2 separate regions of the Homo sapiens genome follow, and region 2 is linked to region 1. Evidence: promoter capture Hi-C in 16 types of primary human blood cells and fetal thymus (Javierre and others, 2016). All regions are on one chromosome and are shown on one strand. Each heading gives the region's core, a stretch centred on a gene start or on the middle of the fragment in contact. The rest is flanking DNA. Distances are from core to core; before and after follow the strand shown. Region 1 holds the start of GAS2L3 (growth arrest specific 2 like 3). Region 2 holds the start of NR1H4 (nuclear receptor subfamily 1 group H member 4).

Evidence for each region. The method cuts DNA at HindIII sites, captures the fragments that hold promoters and counts their contacts. A CHiCAGO score of 5 or more calls a contact.
Region 2: a contact is called between the fragment with the promoter of NR1H4 here and the fragment with the promoter of GAS2L3 in region 1, in 2 of 17 cell types (neutrophils and total CD4 T cells). The highest score is 5.4, in neutrophils.

What each region holds. Positions count from the first base shown.
Region 1 is chr12:100,571,348-100,575,309 of GRCh38, reverse strand. GAS2L3 (growth arrest specific 2 like 3) reads right to left here and starts at 1,626. Exons shown (of 10, transcript NM_174942.3): 1 at 1,525-1,626. RefSeq lists an enhancer at 1,332-1,621 and a silencer at 1,652-1,781. The HindIII fragment of the contact is 13,205 bases long and covers 1-3,962 here.
Region 2 is chr12:100,472,005-100,475,966 of GRCh38, reverse strand. NR1H4 (nuclear receptor subfamily 1 group H member 4) reads right to left here and starts at 2,101. Exons shown (of 11, transcript NM_001206979.2): 1 at 1,908-2,101. The HindIII fragment of the contact is 6,694 bases long and covers 883-3,962 here.

The sequences.
Region 1 (3,962 bases), core at 377-2,876:
AACAATAATTATCCCTATCTCTGGTACTGCCTTCACCTTCTACCTCTCCCCATCCTTTGGGGAGAGCTCAAAACTTTTTGTCTAAGTTAAACAGCAGAGAAATAATAATAGCTATGTATCAGGCACTGTGCTAAATTAGTTACGTGGAATTTCATTTAATCTTTACAACAATCCTCTCAATAAAGTAGGAACTATTATTAACCTTCTTTCACAGACTAGGAAATTTAGGCTTAGAAGGATTAAATAATGTGTCTAAAGTCAGATATCCAATGAAGTCTGATTTCAGAGCCCCCCTGCTTAGCAACTCTGTCACGCTAAAAAAAAAAAAATTACTACTTCTAATTCAATGTCAGATAGCAAACACCTACTGTTCAATGACAGTTGGTTTCTAATGAGATTTTGAAACAGATGAGTCAGACAACAGGTATCGGCATCTACACCAGATCACTAGAGTTTCCACTTCTGTCATTTGAAACAGTTCCAATTTGTTCCCAAAGGGAATCTGAGGTGGTGAGAATTTCAATTTCTAATCATTTAAGTGCCAAGACAGGTGATCAGATAGCAATTCACAAAGCGGTTCTGTTGTTCTTGTTGTTTTTGTTTGTTTGTTTTTTGCTCTTCACACAAGCGAAGCAAAACCCAGGCTCTGACCTAAAATCATCTCTTTGCAACCACTGGGGATCAGCTATTCCACCATGCCATGCCACAAAGCACTCAAATTTACAACATTCAATCCCTCGGTGTGAAAAGATTAGGAAAGGAACCACGGGTGACTGCATAGAGGAGCACGCCCTCCAAAACTTTCCTCTGACTTCCAAGGCACTCTACAAGCCTTCCCTTTCTTTTGCCAGCCTCTCCCCGGGCAGTCCTCCAAACTGAGGGTTGTGGGCGGAAGGCATCGCGCAGGGTCTCCAGCTCTATTCCCCAGTTCCGCACATGTGGGCGTTCTAGACCCTGCATGGACTGGGAGAAAAAACAGGGAAGAGCCTATAAACCTTGCTAGAGGGCAAGAATAACTGTCTGTCTCTTTCTCTTTGCAGGGCCAGAGACTTCATCAATTCTTTCCGAGGATGATGAACAGAAAAAAACAGACCCTCTAAGTGCCAGGCGCTTAGGGATGAGGGTGCCCCTGAAGATCCCACAGTACCTTCGGGCTCTGATACCGCTCTGGATTTAAAGCAGGGCGAGTAGCGGCTGGATCCCTCCTCCCCAGCTGAGCTCGCCCACACCAGCAGCCCCAACCGCCCCGCACACCTGTCGCCCCTCTCTCCGCACTTGGGTGGACAGGTGAAGGCAGGCGCAACGTCACCTTGACGGCCCCAGGAGCCAATCAGAGCACGCGACTGCCGCAGCCAGGCAAACGCAGAGCGTACTGGCTCCCGCAGCCGGGAGACCCAACAAACCTCAGCTTCGGGGCCTCAGAGAGCGGGGGGCTCCTGGAGCCCTCAGGCTGAGGCGCGGAGGCCCCGAGACAGCGCGTAAAAGTTCGCCAGGAAAAGAGAAGACAAACAGGGAAGTACTCACCAGGCGCAGGAGGGTCACTTCTCCCAGCGGGGCGACAACTCGGCTCAATCTGTGCGGGGCCAACACGCCCCTGACCAACCGCCGCCGCTGCCGCCGCCGCCTGGGCCTCAGGGTCAGTAGCCGCTGGCCGCCGCCTGTTTCGAAGGGACCAATCATAAGGCGGGGGCGTGGTCTGAGGCCCCGCCCCCGGGCTGCCGGGAAGCACGCGACCCGTGGGCGCTCGCCTGTCAGCGCGTCCAGCGCTGCGCCTCCGGGCGTCTCGGAGCTTCGGTGGCCAAGTCCCTCTGTTCACTGAAAGGCGAAGTGGTTCAGTCAGAGCAGGTCCTCCGATCTGGCCTTTCAGCGACAGCCAGTTCGAAAGCCACAGCCCGTCCTGTTGTTCCCACAGGCCTGAGAGGTGAATGAACCTCGCCTGTAATAATTGCTTCTGAGCGTCCTGGAATGTTGCGGTGCAGCTGAAGGCGCTTCCCTGAGTTTTATCCTGGTCTGTTAAGAGCCGCTCCCAACCCCACATCCACTCGGGAGCTGGCTGACCTGAGGGCGCCACGGTTTCCAGAGACGCAGCCTGGAACCCAGCAGGAATGGGGGTCCTCAGCAGAAATCTTTCAGAGAGAGGCCCCTCTTCTCAGGTGCGGAGGGATGAGGAGGAATCCTGTAGTCCCAAGTCACAAAAGGAGGATGTTGACTCTTCAGCAAACACCGGAGCCTGAAAACAAAACAAAACAAAACAAAAAAACAATGAACTTCAACGTAAGGGATGCTTACTAGCTCCCAGGGTTGAAATAAAGCCGAGACTAGACATCAGTGTAACAATCCCAAGTCGGTTATATCTGTAAATGTGGCTTGTTTCATAGCAAAAAATAAAATAAATAAATAAATAATTTTTTAAAAAAATCACTGGCTTTGTCCCCGAGGCCTGTGTTGCAGCCCAGGCCCTTCTTTTTTTTTTTTTTTTTTTTTTTTTTTTTTTTTTGAGACAGGGTCTTGCCCTGTCACCCAGGCTGGAGTGCGGTGGCACGATCTCGGCTCACTGCAGCCTTGATCTCACGGACTCAAGAGATCCTCCCACCTCAGCCTCCAGAGTAGCCAGGATTACAGGCCTGTGCCACCACACCGGGCTAATTTTTGTGTTTTTTGTAGAAATGGGTTTTTGCCATGTTGCCCAGGCTGGTCTTGAACTCCTGGGCTCCAGTGATCCTCCCACCTCGGCCTCCCAAAGTGCTGGGATTACAGGCGTTAGCCACCTCACCCGGCCCTATTCAGTCTTTTAGCCTTCCTCAAATCATGTCTCCTCTCTGGGCCTCAGGTCTCCATCTGTGAATGGTGGGCACTGAACTGGAATGACATCTCTCTCTAGCATTTATTCCTTCCTTTACTCAACAAAAACAATGAGATGTACTGTTGCTTGCTAAAGAAACTGAAATGAAAACAGCCTTAGGCTTCAAAGTGCTCAGCAGCATGGTAAAGGCCAAATGGAAGTCTGTGGAGGTCCATGAAAGAAGGAACCCCTAAGAGTCTTGAAGGGTGATGGCAGAGGTTTGAAAGGAGCTGAATTTTTAAAGATGAATTAAGACTCTGCCAGGAGGGAGGGATAACTGGGAATAAGAATTAATTTCCAGGCAGAGAGAGCAACAAAGACAAGGTTCCAGAGATGTGAGAGTACATGAAATGTTCTGAGAATACTCATTTTGAATGACTGAAGTCTGCAGATTGGGAGGCAGATCAGATGGGAGAAGTAGACACAAATGAAAGGCCTGGTAGATGCTGAGGAATTTAGTTTCTTTCCCACAGGCAATTGGGATGATTATAAGGAAGGACTGGTAGGAACAGATTTGTGTTTTAGGGGAAAAACAATATTTTCACAGATGTTTGAAGATGGTAGTAAGACAGGTGGCAATCCCTTAAATTAAAAGATGACGGTTACCTAAATTATCTCAGAAGGGATGGTGAGGAAGAGGTATCTGGTGATACCTAAGAAGCTGACTCATCTGGACTTAGTTATTATGTGATTGATGATGGTACCAATCTAAAGAATACAAGGAAAACAGGCTGTGGGGGAAAATAATGCATTTTGGTTTGGAGTGTGTTCAGTTTGAAGTGTGAGAGGAGTGTGCAAGTGGAGATGTTCAGAAGATAAAGTTAGACCTGAAGCTGTTTAAATTGGTCTGTGTAGGAGATATAGATTTGAGAAGTAAATTCAACAAATATTATTTTACACATCTTCTGTGTCAGGCTCCATTCTAAGCACAAGGGATCCTACTGTCATGGAGCTTACATTCTGGGGTAGGTGGGTGAGTGAAGATGGTAACTAGGAGTTGATATTTAAGTGGTAAATGAACCTGAAACCAGATAGTGGTTGCCACTTTTGAAATTGACTCAGTAGTCCCAACCGTAGAAATTGACCCTTCTGGTCTTAAAACCTAAAACTTACATTTGTT
Region 2 (3,962 bases), core at 852-3,351, 100 kb after region 1:
AGGTCAAGAGTTCGAGACCAGTCTGGCCAACATAGTGAAACCCCGTCTCTACTAAAAATACAAAAAATAGTGGCATGGTGGTGCACGCCTGTAGTACCAGCTACTCAGGAGGCTGAGGCAGGAGAATCGCTTGAACCCGGGAGGTGGAGGCTGCAGTGAGCCGATATAGCGCCACTGCACTCCAGCCTGGGAGACAGAGCGAGACTTTGTCTCAAAAAAATAATAATAAAAAGTAAAGAAAAACTCCCATACAGGGTTTTTGTGAGAAGGAAACAGGCGAATGAAGTAAAGGCTAGGACATGTTAGTAGACATTGTAGAAAAGTTAGCTCCATCACACACTCATACATACACACATTTCTTTTCTTTTCCTTGCAGAGTACAAAGGCCTCACAACCAATGGATATTCCATTGCAATTGGCCCAATCTTGAAGAGGTGGAAACAAGAGGAAGGACAAGGATTCCATGACTTTCCCTCTCCAGCTGTGAGGAGAGGGCAGAGGTACGTGGTGGGAAATTGCTGCAAATCTTGAGGAAGGGTCTCAGGACAAGAGAGCTTTGTCCCTGGCCAGTACTTTATCAGTTAACCAGGAGTTGCATCAGTATTTGTTGCAACATCCTCAGAAAACAGAAAAGTCCACGGTACAAATGGCACAGATCCATAATTTGGAGGACTGGGGGTAGGAACGTAACACAAAGATAAAAGTGTCTATCATTTTATAAAATCACAGCTAGAAACAAAATGGTAGCTCCCTGAACATCTTTTCCTCTCTTCTCCCTTCCTTTTTTTAGGAACAGAAAAAAAAATTTAGATAGATAGATAGATAGATAGATAGATAGATAGGTAAACCACTTTACTGAGGTGTGACTGACATATAAAAGCTTTACATATTCCATGTATACACTTTGATGAGTCTGGGGATAGGCATACACTCATTAAATCATCACCACAATCTATACCATAAACCTATCCATCACCTCCAAAAGTTTCTTCCTGCCTTCTTATTTATCACTAATATTATTTCTAAGGGTTCCTACCCCTCTTGTCAATACTCCTGAAGTGATTCTAAGACAGCACCAGAAACAGCATCAGATTTCTTTATAGCTCAAAGCTCAGGTGTGAGTTTCTTAGAGGAAGAATTCAAGGTGAGTCACTTGTCATTCCCTCCTGCCCCTCCCTTCTGAATAAAAACCCAATTAAAAGAAGTAAGTCAGGCTCCACAGTTGCCCCATTCACTCTGTCAATAAGGAGACAAAGAGGTATCTTATCTATAAATTTAGTCCTTGGACAATTTTATTACTAAAGTTCTTCGTCATACTCACATTTCTATCTTTTAAAAATATTTCCATCTGATATTTCCTGTCATATTAATATTCAAAATGGAAAGCAATAGAAGAGTTTACAACTGAAGTCAAGAAAGAAGACTTTTTCCACCTACTCTTCTTCTAGGGAAAAATTTCATTTCAATTAAGCATAGGTTAAATGTCTTATTCTTAGTTCCCAAGTCATCTGACATTAGCAATACTCCCAAACTCACATCAAGATTTGATAAATCACCAAAATATAGCACACTATACAAGTCAAATTGTTTATGGAATCAGAACGGAGACATTTCTGAAATGCACTATCTCCAGTGATTTACTCAGGTGACCACAATGTTAAAAGAGTATTTCTAAATAAGTTTTCAATAGGTAAGCAACTGTTAAGACTCATTAACTTTTGCTTCTGCTTCTTTTTGTTTTTTAGTTTCTCTCTTTTTTAATTTTCAGGACTTTACATCAAACTCTACTAACTTAGAATTCATTTATTGACATACATTACAGATGTCAAAGAGAAACTTTTAAGTGACTATTTTTTCTCTGTTGCTGTGAGATACACAACCCACTCCCAAAGGAATTAGGTACTTACTTGGATTGTTTTGGGTCAGAGATGGACTTTCAAGGCCCTGGGAGGATTCTGGACTGAGTCTTCCTCTCCAGATCCCAGCGATTTTGCTACAAATGCTCAGAATCCAATTTCGCATTAGGATAAGTCGGGGAGACAATGAGGTGAGGAGGAGGAGAGAGTTCCAGTGTACTGTGCATGATCACAGGCGGCCTTCTGGGCTAGCAGCAGCATCTCTTCCTTGGCTCTGTGCCTCATGGACACAGATTAGTCATTAACAATCCTTCCCTGCTAAATGATATAAACATAGAAAGGAACCTTGGGAGAGCCTCGAGATTCCCAAGACAAAACCGCAAAGCCCCAGAATGAGGAATGTGACAAAACCAAGGAGCCCTGCAGCTTGCCTTTGAAAGCATTTCTCCTCTGGCCGTTTTGTGGGCTCCTGGGCACCCGTATTTCTGTACACATCAACTAAAACCAAACTGTCATCTTCCCTCTCTCTCACTACAACTTCTTTGAATAGCTCTATCACTTCCCCGGGACTGAACTAGAAGCTGGGAGCCTTTTTGACCCTTCCCTCTGCCCAGCCACCCATATCAAATAATAACAGATTTGGGTTGATTGCATCTTTGGAATGTCTCTTATTTCCAACCCACATTGTTCTTCTCCTACTTTGGGCCTATCATAGCTTCCTTTCTGGATGACATTGGTCCCACAACCCCTTTTTCTTCTCTCCCCTTCTTCTGTTTTCCAAATTGCACAGCAGTGTGGAAGCACAGGCTCTGGTTAGATGCCCACTCTTTAGTCACAGCCTTGAGCAAGACACTTAGCCTCTCTGAGTCTCAGTTTCCTCATCTGTAGAATGGATATGGAGAAACCATCTCATGGGCTGTGGTGAGAATTACATGAGTAGTGAAAATGTTTAGAAAAGTGTGTGGCAGATAGCAATCACCCAATAATTTGTGGCAATTATTATTTCTCTCCTTCATTAGTTGAACCATCATTGATTGATTATCAGCCTACTATGTACCCAGCAACTTGCTAGGCACTCCCCTCATCGAAAATCCCCAATGCACTCTCTATGCCTAAAAAACGAACACAAAATGCTTGACATTTAGAACCCCTTCCACACCTGAAGATCTAGCCCTAATGTCTCTAGGATTTTCTCACATTCTGTCCCTTCAGACATCCCAACCTCTGCCAACCTGTACCAAGCTCTCCCGCCTCCACACTTTTGCACAAGCTCTTCCTTCTACCTCAGTTACTTTCTTTTCACACCCACACATCTTCCAGGCGTGGAACAGAAGCAGAGTTCTCCCTGAAGCCAGCCCCATTCCTCATCTGCCCCTATTCTCCCCACCCAACTCCCTTGATCTTTTATTTGTAGTTTCCTTGCTGTCCCTTAAATCCTCTGACCTTATATATTATAGTTTTCTACTTGTTTTATCTCTTTTACAAAAACCAGGCATGGTAGCAGACTTGTCTTTGTATCTACCCTTTGTCTTAGCACAGTGCCTCTCACAGAAAAAGCATTGTGTAACTCTTTGTTAACGCAATCAATGAGTGAGCTGAGAAACAACTTCCCAAAGCAGCATGGCTGCACATGCACCTGTGTGTGTGTGTGTGTGTGTGTGTGTATGTGATGTGTGCATTTCCCATCTGTGATGTGTGTCATTTGTTTCCCGTCACAAGGTCAGCTAGTAGAAGATCTACATTCAAACCTGTTAGAAATGTTATATTTTGCTTCTCTTATAAAATAGCATTTTTGTAGGTCCTACAGGCTCCTACTTCCTACCTACTTCTGGGGGTTCCCAATGTACTATGGTGCATCCTCCAGCCCCTTCGGCACAAGGAAGAGGGTCACCCCAGGCCTGTACATTTTCTTTTGAAGAGAGTTTGCACTGACACTTACTGCACTCTGCAGCTCTGGGCTGCCTGAGGGACTCCTGTGTGACTTCTATGTGACACCAAGCCCATTTCTTCTTGGATGATAAGAGCCTGTACTGTGATTTCATTCTCTCCAGCAGAGATGGAGACAATGACTGAAGACACAGACTGTGGCGCTGGACCGGCTGGGTT